2 separate regions of the Homo sapiens genome follow, and region 2 is linked to region 1. Evidence: promoter capture Hi-C in human tissues and cell types (Jung and others, 2019). All regions are on one chromosome and are shown on one strand. Each heading gives the region's core, a stretch centred on a gene start or on the middle of the fragment in contact. The rest is flanking DNA. Distances are from core to core; before and after follow the strand shown.

Region 1 (6,760 bases), core at 2,857-5,356:
TGGGATTACAGGCTTGAGCCACCGCGCCCGGCCTGGAGGGTCTACTATTATAACAACAGTCTGACACATTTGCACTTAAAAATGCCCATCACAAGCCAGGCACAGTGGCTCATGCCTGCACTTTAGGAACCCGAGGCAGGAGGATCATTTGCACCCACGAGTTTGAGACTAGCCTGAGCAACATAGTGAGACCCCCATCTCTACAAAAAAATTAAGACAAAGAAAATTAGCCAGGCATGGTGGCGCATGTGTGTAGTCCTAGCTACTTTGGAAGCTGAGGCAAGAAGATCACTTGAGCCCAGGAGTTGGAGGCTGCAGTGAGCTACAATTGTGTCACTACACTCCAGCCTAGGAGGTTTTTAAGAGACTGTCTCTTAAAAAAGGCCAGGCGTGGCCAGGTGTGGTGGCTCACACCTGTAATCCCAGCACTTTGGGAGGCCAAGGTGGGTGGATCACTTGAGGTCAGGAGTTTGAGACCAGCCTGGCCAACATGGCAAAACCCCGGCTCTACTAAAAAAAAAAAAAAAAAAAAAAATTAGCCAGGCGTGCTGGCGCACTCCTGTAGTCCCAGCTACTCGGGAGGCTGAGGCAGGAGTATCACTTGAACCCAGGAGGCGGAAGTTGCAGTGAGACAAGATCATGCCACTGCATTCCAGCCTGGGCGACAGAGTGAGACTCTGTCTCAAAAAAAAAAAAAGGCCAGGCATGGTGGCTCATGCCTGTAATCCTAGCATTTTGGGAGGCCAAGACAGGAGGATCACTTGAGACTAGGAGTTCAAGCCCAGTCTGGGCAACTGAGACCCCATCTCTACATAAGTAATTTTTAAAAATGCAAATGACAGCCAGTGTGGTGTCTCACCCCTGTAATCCCAGGCCAAGGCTGAGGCAGGTGGATCACCTGTCAGGAGTGACCAGCCTGGCCAACATGGTGAAACCCTGTCTCAGAAAAAAAAAAAAAGCAGGGGCTTGGGACAATTTTGAAAAGCTAATATTTTTGCTGGGTGCAGTAGCTCTCGCCTGTAATCCCAGCACTTTGGGAGGCCGAGGTAGACGGATCATGAGGTCAGGAGATCGAGACCATCCTGGCTAACACGGTGAAACCCCGTCTCTCCTAAAAATACAAAAAAATTGGCCGGGCATGGTGGCAGGTGCCTATAGTCCCAGCTATTTGGGAAGCTGAGGCAGGAGAATGGCGTGAACCCAGGAGGTGGAGCTTGCAGTAAGCCAAGACCATGCCACTGCACTCCAGCCAGCGCAACCGAGCGAGATTCCGTCTCAAAAAAAAAAAAAAAGAAAGAAAGAAAAGCTAATATTTTAATATCCCCCTCCTTTCAAGAACTGCCCAAGGAACTGGTCTTACCAAGATTATAATGAACTAAAGATTCAAAAAATGGCCCTGAAGGACAATGAAATAAATAACTAAAGACTACTCAACTTCTCCCTTGCCTCACAAGTGCAGTATAAACTCAGTCGAACAGCAACAAGCTGCCAGCGTCCTCTGGGTTCAGCACCTGCTTTCCTAAAGGATCTCCTGACCAAGGAGCTGGTTTCTTTCAAAATTATTATTTTATTTATTATTTATTTATTTATTTATTTTTGGAGACTGAGTCTCACTCTGTCACCCAGGCTGGAGTGCAGTGGCGCGATCTCAGCTCACTGCAACCTCCGCTTTCCGGGTTCAGGTGATTCTCCTGCCTCAGCCTCCATGCACCACCACGCCCAGCTAATTTTTGTATTTTTAGTAGACATGGGATTTTGCCATTTTGGATAGGCTAATCTCTTAACTACTGACCTCAGGTGATCCGCCCGCCTCAGCCTCCCAAAGTGCTGGGATTACAGACATGAGCTACCGCACCTGGCCTCTTTCAAAATTATACATTCAGAGGTGACAAGATCCTGATAGAAGTGCACAAAGTAGGCTAGGCGCGTGACCAGGCACAGTGGCTCACGCCTGTAATCCCAGCACTTTGGGAGGCCAAGGCAGGCGGATCAGGAGGTCAGGAGTTCGAGATCAGCCTGAACAACATGGTGAAACCAGGTCTCTACTAAAAATACAGAAATTAGCCGGGCATGGTGGCACGCACCTGTAATCCCAGCTACTTGGGAGGCTGGGGCAGGAGACTTGCTTGAACCCAGGAGGCAGAGGTTGCAGTCAGCTGAGATTGTGCCATTGCACTCCAGCCTGGGTGAGAGAACGAGACTTCGTCTCAGAAAAAAAAAAAAAAAGTAGGCTTGGCGCGGTGGCTCATGCCTGTAATCCCAACAATTTGGGAGGCGGAGGCGGGTTGATCATGAGGTCAGGAGTTCGAGACCAGTCTGGCCAACATAGTGAAACCCCGTCTCTACTAAAAATACAAAAATTAGCCAGGTGTGGTGGCACGTGCCTGTAGTCCCAGCTACTCGGGAGGCTGAGGCAGGAAAATTGCTTGAACCAGGGAGTCAGAGGTTGCAGTGAGCCGAGATGGCACCACTGTACTCCAGCCTGGCAACGGAGCAAGACTCCATCTCAAAAAAACAAAACAAAACAAAACAAAACAAAAAGTGCACAAAGTATTGTCGCTTGACTTCTTAGTCATCTCATGCAGGCATATTCTATGACCACATACAAGAAGACTGTACAAAGAACCAAAGAGGCCACAGGTCAAGAGAAATGTGTTTTGGAGCAATGAGAACTCTTCCTAGACCTGCACACTCTACTGAGGATCTCCAACTTGCCCAAATTCACAGGAAAGGGGCTTGAAGGTGTTTTCACTGAGCAAGATAATTTTAGTACTGTTAAAAGTTAATTTGCGCCGGGCATAGTGGCTCACACTTGTAACCCCAGCACTTTGGGAGGCCAAGGGGGGTGGATCACGAGGTCAGGAGTTCGAGACCAGCCTGGCCAACATGGTGAAACCCCGTCTCTATTAAAAATACAAAAATTAGCCGGGCATGGTGGCGCGTGTCTGTAGTCCTACCTACTCGGGAGGCTGAGGCAGGATAATCGCTTGAACCCGGGAGGTGGAGGCTGTGGTGAGCCGAGATCGCGCCACTGCACTCCGGCCTGGGCAACAGAGCGAGAGACTCTGTCTCAAAAGAAAAAAAAGAAAAAAAACAGTTAATTTGCCAGTTCCATATCATCCACAACAAAAACAAGTTTCTTTTTCCGATTCTAAGACACTCCTACGTTTCCTTTGTCTCCTATGGCGAGCATCCCTTTAGGAGATAAAATCAAGTCATCACCATAATACTCACTTTCTCCTAAAGCAAAAAGAGGAAGACATTACCACTCTCCAAAAAGTGGTGGTGAAGAACCAAAGAAATTATGTTCCAAAATAAAACTCAGCCATTATGGACATTTAACCAGGTTCTTTGCGAGGAAAACGGTGAGCTTCGAGGTACACGTGAGGTTCCGAACGGGTCTCAGGAAGCAGCAGCCAGGCAGAGGGTCCCCCTTGCCATAATCATAGGGCCGTGACACCGGCCTGCCTGGCTCGCGGGGGCTTTGGCTTGCTTCGTCTAGTCTTAGCATCCAGCGTCCTGAAAATCACTCGCAGGAACGCTATCTAAGAAAGAGGTAAGTCTATTTCTCAGCCAGGAGCAACATAACTCCCAGGAGAGCATCAGGGTGGCACCGGACACACTTTAGCGCTCCGGATCAGCGGAGTCCAGAGCTTCGGTCAGAGAAGCTGGTTTCCCGCTACTAGCCGGCCAACCCTCAGGCACTGGCGCTCTCCGTCCTCCACACCGGCTGTCCCCCCGGCTTCGGTGCCAGCATCTGGGAGGCTCGGCGGGCGGCCGGTCAGGACGCTCGAGCGATGTTCCAGTGATGGCCCCACCGGAGCCCCGACCCCACACGCGCCCACTCCAACCCCGCGCCCGCCACCGCCCTCCCCGCGGGCGTCAGGCCGGTCTATCGGCCCGGCTCCTGTCACTCACCTGCCCGGCCCGGGCACCGAGCGCCCACGGCTCCCTACGGGAGCTGGGCCCCCCGGGCCTCCAGGTTTCGGCCCGCCCCCTGGCAGGCAGCACAGGTGGCTGAGCACCGCTACAGCGGCCTCTCACCGGCCGCTTGGTCCAGCTCCCGGCGCTGCCCACTGGGTACGGATCAACAACAAGATGGCGGCTAGCCGAGGGGGCGGGGGCCGGGCGTCATAGTAACCAGGACTGCAAAGAACCCGCCCCCGAGGGGGTGCTATCCCCAATCAACAGTCTTTTTGCTCGTCGCCAGGGGAAGTGCTTCCTGCTGACAGGTCAGCTCACGTGTCAGTCAGAGTCTGCCTCTCAGGGCCTCTGCCGAAAGCGTGGGGCACGTGACTGTGACGGCATGGGTTGGCGCATGCGCTTCGTTCCCGGAGTGGCTGGCGGCGGAGTTTTCGCTGGCTACTACGAGGCCGGAGCGCCCTTGGCCTCTCTGCGTCCCTGGCCCTCGTGCGGTACCGGCGGCGTCTTGTCATACACTTGCGCACACACAGGGAATCTCAGCGGTGTGCTATTCGTTTTTTTGTCCCCCACTCTGGGAGAAGGGGGGTGCAGCCCCCAGTTCACTCTGGAGAGGAAACTGAGGCTCAGAGAGGGGAGGCCGAGCCAAGGTCACGCCACCTCTAGAAATGGAGGTGCTGGGTCTCGCACCTCCTCCTGCTGGTTTCAGAGTGTGAGGAGCCTCTATCCCAGCTTCCCACGCTTTGTCCCTTACTAGCCTCGAGGTACCGCAGTCTGTGCTGCCACAGCAGCCTCTGGCTCATTGCCCATGCTTTCCTGCCTGAGGTTTAGAGCCTAGCACAAGTCCTGACACACAGCGGGCACTCCCTTTTCTCTTCCCTAGAGCATCTTGTCTTGAGATCCTGTGACAGCATCTTTTGCCCTGGACTGTCATGACCGGCCTCCCAAGCAGACTAATGGTCCCAGGAAGATGGTCACACCTTGCTCCCCATACAGAACACCTAACTCTGGGCTTGGCTTCAGGCTTAGAACAACAGATGAAGTTACGTGGCCTGGGCCCACACCCAAATGCCCCAACTAGCTAACTCTGACTTTTGAGCCTTAGCCTCTCTTTAGCTTTGGTTGTCCCATCTGTAAAATGAAGATAAAAGTGGAGCTTCTCAGAGGAAGATTTAATGAGCCCTCAGAGCAGGGGAAGAACTCAGGAAAAATCTGCCTACAACCACTTCCTGGAACAACCTGCTTCCAAGTTGCTGTTCCTGAGGCGTGCCTTAAAACACTAACTTTGGTGGAAGCCCCATGAAGCGTTTTTGTTTTGCTTTGTTTTGTTCCCACAGAAGGCTTTCAGCTTCTTCCTGGCCCTGGGATACCATAACTGGTTCAGAAGGGGAGGTCCTCCTAGCTAGGCGCAGTGGCTCATGCCTGTAATCCAGCACTTTGGGAGGCCAAAGAAGGTGGATCACTTGAGGTCAGAGGTTCGAGACCAGCCTGGCCAAAATGGTGAAACCCTGTCCCTACTAAAAATACAAAAATTAGCTGGACGTGATGGCAGGTGCCTGTAATCCCAGCTACTCAGGAGGTTGAGGCAGGAGGATCACTTGAACCTGGGAGGCAGAGGTTCAGTGAGCTGAGATCACGCCACCACACTCTAGCCTGGGTGACAGAGCAAAATTCTGTCTCAAAAAAAAAAAAGGGAGGTTCTCCAGTACCCTGAGGGGGTTCAGGCCCACAGACTCAACAGACGAGTAAAGACTGTGATAACTTGGATTTACCACAGTAAGGTCCTCTTGGAGAGCTGGCAGAAGCCTGAGACCTGATGTCAGGTTGGGCATGGAGAGTGGGCCAACACTGCATCCAGCAAGACCTGCCCACCAGCAGATTGCTGCAGGCCACTTGGCTACATGCAATAGCTCAGGTCAACACAGGGAGATGTGAGAGCAGAGGAACCAGAAGAAACAGATCAGGAAGAAAAGCCAACAACCCTCAAAAGGGGGATTCTGCTAATCCTCCAGGACCAGCCATGCCACAGGATTCTCAAGTCTGCATCACCCCTCACCGCAGTGCAAAAGCTCCAGATCCTTCCCAAGAAAACCTCCACATACAGTTGGCAAATTGCCCTGAAGTTTGATGGGACCCTCAAAAAGCAACAGTGGTATAACTACTGTGGATAACAGTTCGGAGGTTCCTCAGAAAACTAAAAATACAGCTACCACATGATCCAGCAATCCCACTGCTGGGTATGTACCCAAAGGAAAGGAAATCAGTATATCAAAAAGATATCTGCACTTCCATGTTTGCTGCAGTGCCATTCACAATAGCCAAGATTTGGAAGCAACCTAAGTGTCCATCAACAGGTGAATGGATAAAGAAAATATGGTACATATGGGCCGGGTGCGGTGGCTCACGCCTGTAATCCCAGCACTTTGGGAGGCCGAGGCGGGCGGATCATGAGGTCAGGAGATGGAGACCATCCTGGCTAACACGGTGAAACCCCATCTCTACTAAAAATACAAAAAATTAGCCGGGCGTGGTGGCAAGCGCCTGTAGTCCCAGCTACTCAGGAGGCTGAGGCAGGAGAATGGCGTGAACCCAGAAGGCGGAACTTGCAGTGAGCCGAGATCACGCCACTGTGCTCCAGCCTGGGCAACAGAGCGAGACTCCATCTCAAAAAAAAAAAAAAGAAAAGAAAATATGGTACATATGCAGAATGGAATATTATTCAGCCATTAAAAAGAATGAGATTGTGAGATTGGCTGGTGCGGAGGCTCATGCCTGTAATCCCAGCACTTTGGGAGGCTGAGGCAGGAGGATCACCTGAGGTCAGGAGTTCAAGACCAGC
Region 2 (6,760 bases), core at 2,081-4,580, 41 kb before region 1:
CTAAGTCAAATGAAGCCCAATTTAGTCAAAGAAAATAGAAGCATAGGCTGGGCACGGTGGCTTACGCCTGTAATCCCAGCACTTTGGGAGGCTGAGGGGGGCGGATCACGAGGTCAGGAGATTGAGACCATCCTGGCTAACACGGTGAAACCCTGTCTCTACTAAAAATACAAAAAATTAGCCGGGCGTGGTGGTACACGCCTGTAGTCCCAACTACTCGGGAGGCTGAGGCAGGAGAATGGCGTGAGCCCGGGAGGCAGAGCTTGCAGTGAGCCAAGATCGCGCCACTGCACTCCAGCCTGGGCAACAGAGTGAGACTCCATCTCAAAAAAGAAAAAGAAAAAAAAATAGAAGCATAGTGGAAGATATTATTAGTCAAATTAATCTATTTCAGGGCCAGGCATGGTGGCTCACATCTGTAATCCCAGCACATTGGGAGGCCAAGGCAGGCAGATCACTTAAGCTTAGAAGTTTGAGACCCGCCTGGGCAACATGGTGAGACCCTGTCTCTACAAAATACAAAAAAAAAGAGCCGGTGCACACCTGTGGTCCCAGCTACTCCAGAGGCTGAGGTGGGAGAATCACTTGAGCCCAGGAGGTCAAGGCTGTGGTGAGTTGAGATCGTGCCACTGCATTCCAGTCTGGGCAACAGAGTGAGACCCTGTCTCAAAATAGTATATAAATAAATAAATTGGACTAAAATTTTATATTAAAAAAACACACAGTCCAGCCACGGTGGCTCATACCTGTATCCAGGCACTTTGGGAGGCCAAGGCAAGTGGGTCACTTAAGGTCAGGAGTTCGAGACCAACCTGACCAACATGGTGAAACCCCATCTCTACTAAAAATACAAAAATTAGCCAGGAATGGTGGCAGGCACCTGTAAGTCCCAGCTACTCAGGAGGCTGAGGTCCTTGAACCCAGGAGGTAGAGGTTGCAGTGAGCCAAGTTCATACCACTGCACTCTAGCCTAGGCAATGAAGCAAGACCCTATCTCAAAACAAAAACAAAAACAAAATACACACACACACACACACACACACACACACACACACACACTTACCTTTCAGCTGGGAGCAGTGGCTCACACCTGTGATCCCAGCTACTTGGGAGGCTGAGGTATCATGCCTCATGGAGGAGGATCACTTGAGACCAGGAGTTCAAGACTAGCCCAGGCAACATAGTGAGGTCCGATCTCTTAAATCTCAGCACTATGAGAGGCCAAGGTGGGAGGATTCCTTGAGGCTAGGAGTTCAAAACTAGCCTGGGTAACAGAGCAAGACCCTGTCTCTACAAAAAACTTTAAAAATTACCTAGTTGTAGTGGCGTGCCTATAGTCCCAGCTACTCGGGGGGCTGAGGTGGGAGGATCACTTGAGCCATAGTTTTTTTTTTTTGTTTTTTTTTTTTTTTTGAGACAAGAGTTTCACTCTTGTTGCCCAGGCTGGAATGCAATGGCGTGGTCTCTGCTCACTGCAACCTCTGCCTCCCGGGTTCAAGTGATTCTTCTGCCTCAGCCTCCCAAGTAACTGGGATTATAGGCACCTGCCAGCACACCCAACTAAGTTTTGTATTTTTAGTAGAGACAGGGTTTCACCATGTTGGCGAGGCTGGTCTCGAACTCCTGACCTCAGGTGATCCGCCTGCCTCGGCCTCCCAAAGTGCTAGGATTATAGGCATGAGCCACCATGCCCGGCGGAGCCATGGTTTCGAGGCTGCAGTGAGGTATGATTGCACCACTGCACAATGCGCCACAATTATTACTGTGTTGTAATGTCTAATGGTGTGTGTAATGCCTAATGGTGTGTGCTGAATGGTATTACTGTGTTGTCTGCCTAATGGTGACTTCTATTCCCATCATTCCTTCTATATTTATTAATCAAAATAAATCAGAATTCTGGCCGGGCACGGTGGCTCACTCCTGTAATCCCAGCACTTTGGGAGGCCGAGGCAGGTGGATCACAAGGTCAGGAGATTGAGACCATCCTGGCTAACATGGTGAAACCCTGTCTCTACTAAAAATACAAAAGATTAGCCAGGCTTGGTGGCGGGAGCCTGTAGTCCCAGCTACTCGGGAGGCTGAGGCAGAAGAATGGCGTGAACCCGGGGGGCAGAGCTTGCAGTGAGGCGAGACTGCGCCACTGCACTCCAACCTGGACAACAGAGCGAGACTCCGTCTCAAAAAAAAAAAAAAAAAAAAAAAAAAAGAAATTAGAATTCTATAAGGAAGAGTTGTCCCTTCATATCCATGTATTTATCAGTATAGACTTGTGGATATTTTGTCATTTAAATTCTTCTAGATTGGGCCCTTCAATTCCTTTAAAGTTAGCTCTTCGTACTTCTGACATGATTTTTGACCACTTCTTTACTATCTGTCACCATAAGATGTTCTAGGCTTGTCTTATAATTTTCCTGCCCGAACTCAGGAACCAACCATTTCACCAAGGAGCTCTGTTTCTTTTTATTGTAAGAATGGTATTTAGAAAACTCAGGATTTGGTTACTAGATATACTGATTGCTACTGAAGTATCACTGCTTTTAGGCCCTTTCAGCACATGGAGCTAAGAAATACATGTATGATTACTAGCCCACACACATACACACATCTAATTGCTGCTATCAGCACAGGTGTTTAAGCTCAATTAAGCTAAGAAAAAGTGTCAATAATATTTCATATCTTGGCAGGTTTAAAAACAAATTTTCATTTATTTAGTATGACCAGCTACAATCATCAACTGTTAGTGCTTGCAGTACTAAATGTGAAGTTCAAGGCTTCTGTACATTTATGCAAATAAGCTTTGCCTCATTCATTTATCAAGTATTTACTGACCATCTACTAGATGCCAGGCCCTGAACTCATAAGTGTAAAAGACAAAAAAAAAAGTCCATACCTTCAAGGAGCTTCCATACTAATGTGAAAAACAAACACATAGACAAAAATACAGATTGTGATAAGTGCTATGAAGAAACTAAGTAAGGTTCTATCACTGAAAATATGGTTTCCAGAGCAGAATATAATATAGGATGATCAGGGAAGAAGTGTCTGGGGAGACCTAATAAACTAAAGGTTGGAGGAGCAGGTGTGGATAAGGGTACTGGAAAGAACATTCCAAGCATAAGTAAAATCCCTGAGGTTAATTAAAATAAAAATGAAATTTAAAAAGCTTGAGATGTCCTAAAAACTGGTTCACCTCTTTCTGCCAATTAAGAAACAACCCAGGCCAGTCATGGTGGCTCACACCTATAATCCCAACACTTTGGGAGGCCAAGGCAGGTAGGTCACCTGAGTTGAGTTTGAGACCAGCCTGGCCAATATGGCAAAACCCCGTCTCTACTAAAAATACAAAAATTAGCCAGGCATGGTGGCACATGACTGTAATCCCAGCATTTTGGGAGGCCAAGGCAGGCAAATCACCTAAAGTCAGGAGTTCGAAAGCAGCTTGCCCAACATGGTGAAACCCCATCTCTACTAAAAATACAAAATTTAGTTAGGCGTGGTGGCACATGCCTGTAATCCCAGCTACTTGGGAGGCTGAGGCAGAAGAATCGCTTGAACACGGAGGTGGAGATTGCAGTGAGCCGAGATCGTGCCACTGCACTCCAGCCTGGGCGACAGAGCAAGACTCTGTCTCAAAAAAAAAAAAAAAAAAAGACAGAAACAACCCAATTCAAAATGGTCAAAGGACTTGAATAGACATTTCTTTAAGAAGGTATACCAACAGACAATAACAAAAAAATCCTCTGCATCATTCGTTAGACATTAGGAAAAAGCAAGTCAAAGCCACAGATACCACACACATCCACTAGGATGGCTACAAAAAGAAAAGAAAAGGAGTGTTGGTAAGGATGTGGAGAAATAGGGACCCTTGTACATTGCTGGTAAGAAGGCAAAGTGGTGCAGCCACTGTGGGAAACAGTTTGGCAGTTCCTCCGAAAGGTAAACAAAGAACTTCCACATGATCTGACAATTCCACCCCTAGGCATATACCCAAAAGAATTAAAAGCAGTGACTCATATGGACATTTGTAAGACAATGTTCACAGCAGCATTATTCGCAATAGCCAAAAGGTGGAAACAACCCAGGTGTCCATCAACAGATGAATGAATAAACAAAATGTGGTATACACTTACAATTAAATATTATTCAGCCATAAAAAAGAATGAAGTGGGCCAGGCACGGTGGCTCACGCTTGTAATCCTAGCACTTTGGGAGGCCGAGGCAGGCGGATCACAAGGTCAGGAGATCAAGGCCATCCTGGCCAACATGGTGAAACCCTGTCTCTACTAAAAATACAAAAAATAGCTGGGCGTGGTGGCACATGTCTGTAATCCCAGCTACTTGGGAGGCTGAGGCAGGAGAATCGCTTCGCTTGAACCCGGGAGTTGGAGGTTGCAGTAAACCAAGATCGCGCCACTGCACTCTAGCCTGGCAACAGAGAGAAACTCTCAAAAAAAAAAAAAAAGTGCTAGGATTACAGATGTGAGCCACTGTGCCCGGCCAAGAATGGAGTTTTAATACACACTATGACATGAACGAACCTTGTAAACATTAAGCTAAATGAACCAAGCCAGACACAAAAGGTCAAAAATTGTAATGATTTCACTTTTATGAAATATCTACAATAGGCAAATCTGTAGAGACAGAAAGTAAACAAGAGGTTACCAGGGGATCAGATGATGGAAGAATGGGGAGTTATTATTTAATAGGTACCGAGTTTGTTTCAGATGATGAAAAATTCAGGAAATGGACAGTGGCTATACAACATTGTGAATGTGTTAATGCCACTAAATTATACACTTTAAAATGGTGAATGTTATGTTATGTACATTTTACCAAAATTTTTTTTAAAAAGTTAAGGAAACAAAAAGTCAATTCTATAGCACTGGTTTTTCTAAATTGAAACTCTCCTAAGTAAAGGACAGTGTTAACCTGACTGAAATCATACAACTTAAAGTTATAAAGCAGAATGTAAAAAAAAAACTTAGACACAATGAGCAATCATAAAAATTTATAAACACTGACAAAGATCAGATTTTAAAATAAAGTTAGTTAATTCTGGTATAATTAATATTCATGAGGTTCTTTTCTATAAAGTTGACTTATATTTTAAAATAAATTATTTTTCCTTCAAATATCAGGACTTCCAGGCCCCAGAAAGTCCCTGCATTTCTTACCAACAATTCTTTGCCCCAGCACATATAGACACAGGATACACACAGCACCACTGCCAGCTATCTAACCGCTTTAACCTGGAAGTATCCATTCCGCCTCCGGGACGAGAGAAATGTTCCCTCTTCTCTCCCAGACTAGTGTCACAGCAAATGGGAAAATTCACTGACAACAGCATGCTCTTTTCCACCAATGGAACTTAATGCTATGACTTTTTCTCAGCTTTACCTATTAATAAATTCAATTTTCAAGATCTAAAGACCTTGCTGATGCTTTCAGCCTCTAATTTTATCTAACAAAGTGACTTCGTGCTTTGAGAAAAAAGACCTACAATGATATATCATGGCAAACAAACCAAGAAAAAACTGTGGCAAGGGGTCTATAAGCCCAAGGCTGCTGCTTTCATTAAACTGGCCAGTGACTGACCTTTGTATTCAGGGGTGAACTCCTTCATTTCGGGAGGGAGGGACTCGTAAAAGCGCTGTTCCCGGGAGATGAGGGGCTTGCACACAGTGTGATCGTCGTAACGCATCATGCTGCTGTGTCCGCCTACTTGGTGGATGAAGGGCTCCAGGAGGACTCCCCGGTCTCCAGCCCGACTTGCATTCTTGCCATACTGCCCCACTTCCATGGTTTGACAAACACACATTGCGTTGGGGGCCAGTTGCACACTGAGGGCAGAGGATGCAGCACATGGGCCACAAAAGGAGAGCTACATAGAAGGTCCTGGCCAGGTGAAAGCCAATGGTCAGATTCTATTCAGCTTATTATTCTGTCCTACAGAAAAGAAGAGAGGAAGAAGGAATCAAAACACTGGGTGAGTCACAATTTCCCTGGAGCTCCATGAGTGAGAGCAGGGACTCTTGTTTTGTTCCCTACTATGTGTATCCCTAGCACGTACAATACTACGTGGCACATGAAAGGCAGTTGGTTAAATTTTTGCTGAATGATGCAACCTTGGCCTCTTCCATCTATCTTGTGCACAGAAGCCCACATTCTCTGCCTTTCCTAGTTCCCACCTCCCTTCTGAGTTATCTAAAGGATTTTATTTTAGAGCTACAGCACATTACAACCATCAGGAAAGCACCTATCCCGGTTTACTTCACACCCAAAGATGAGATCAGAAAAAAACAGAAGGCAATGGGAATTTGTTCTGTTCAGACTCCTTAGGATATCCAGTACTGGTAAGGGTCTCTCCTTCACTCAGAGGAAGGGTTTCTGTCTGAGGAATTAGGTCACATGAGATTCCCAAATTCTCCACTGAAGGTGCCAAGGACCAGGCAGGCCATTCATTGCTGAGCTGTAGGACAGTGGTCCCCAAATTTTTTGGCAGCAGGAACCAGTTTCATGGAAGACAACTTTTCCACAGAACGGGTGTGGGGGCGATGGTTTCAGCATGATTGAGGCTGTACATTTATTGTACATTGTATTTCTATTACTACATTGTAATATACAATAAAATAATTATACAACTCACCATAATGTAGAATCCTTGGGAGCTCTAAGATTGTTTTCCTGCAACTAGACGGTCCCATCTTGGGGTGATGGAAGACAGTGACAGATCATCAGGCATTAGTTTCTCATAAGGAGC

What was found. The method cuts DNA at HindIII sites, captures the fragments that hold promoters and counts their contacts. A contact is called where the count stands out against the background at its distance.
Region 2: a contact is called between a fragment that was not itself captured here and the fragment with the promoter of IP6K1 in region 1, in 3 of the 25 tissues and cell types used here (liver, lymphoblastoid cells and mesenchymal stem cells).

What each region holds. Positions count from the first base shown.
Region 1 is chr3:49,782,436-49,789,195 of GRCh38, forward strand. IP6K1 (inositol hexakisphosphate kinase 1) reads right to left here and starts at 4,107. Exons shown (of 6, transcript NM_153273.4): 1 at 3,919-4,107. RefSeq lists silencers at 3,721-4,070, 4,806-4,970, 5,751-5,960 and enhancers at 3,785-4,474, 4,561-4,630. The HindIII fragment of the contact is 27,523 bases long and covers 483-6,760 here.
Region 2 is chr3:49,742,223-49,748,982 of GRCh38, forward strand. It overlaps IP6K1 (inositol hexakisphosphate kinase 1), which reads right to left. Exons shown (of 6, transcript NM_153273.4): 2 at 5,596-5,946. The coding sequence starts at 5,818. Among named protein-coding and RNA genes, the nearest start is that of GMPPB, 22 kb to the left of the region's middle. The HindIII fragment of the contact is 3,402 bases long and covers 1,630-5,031 here.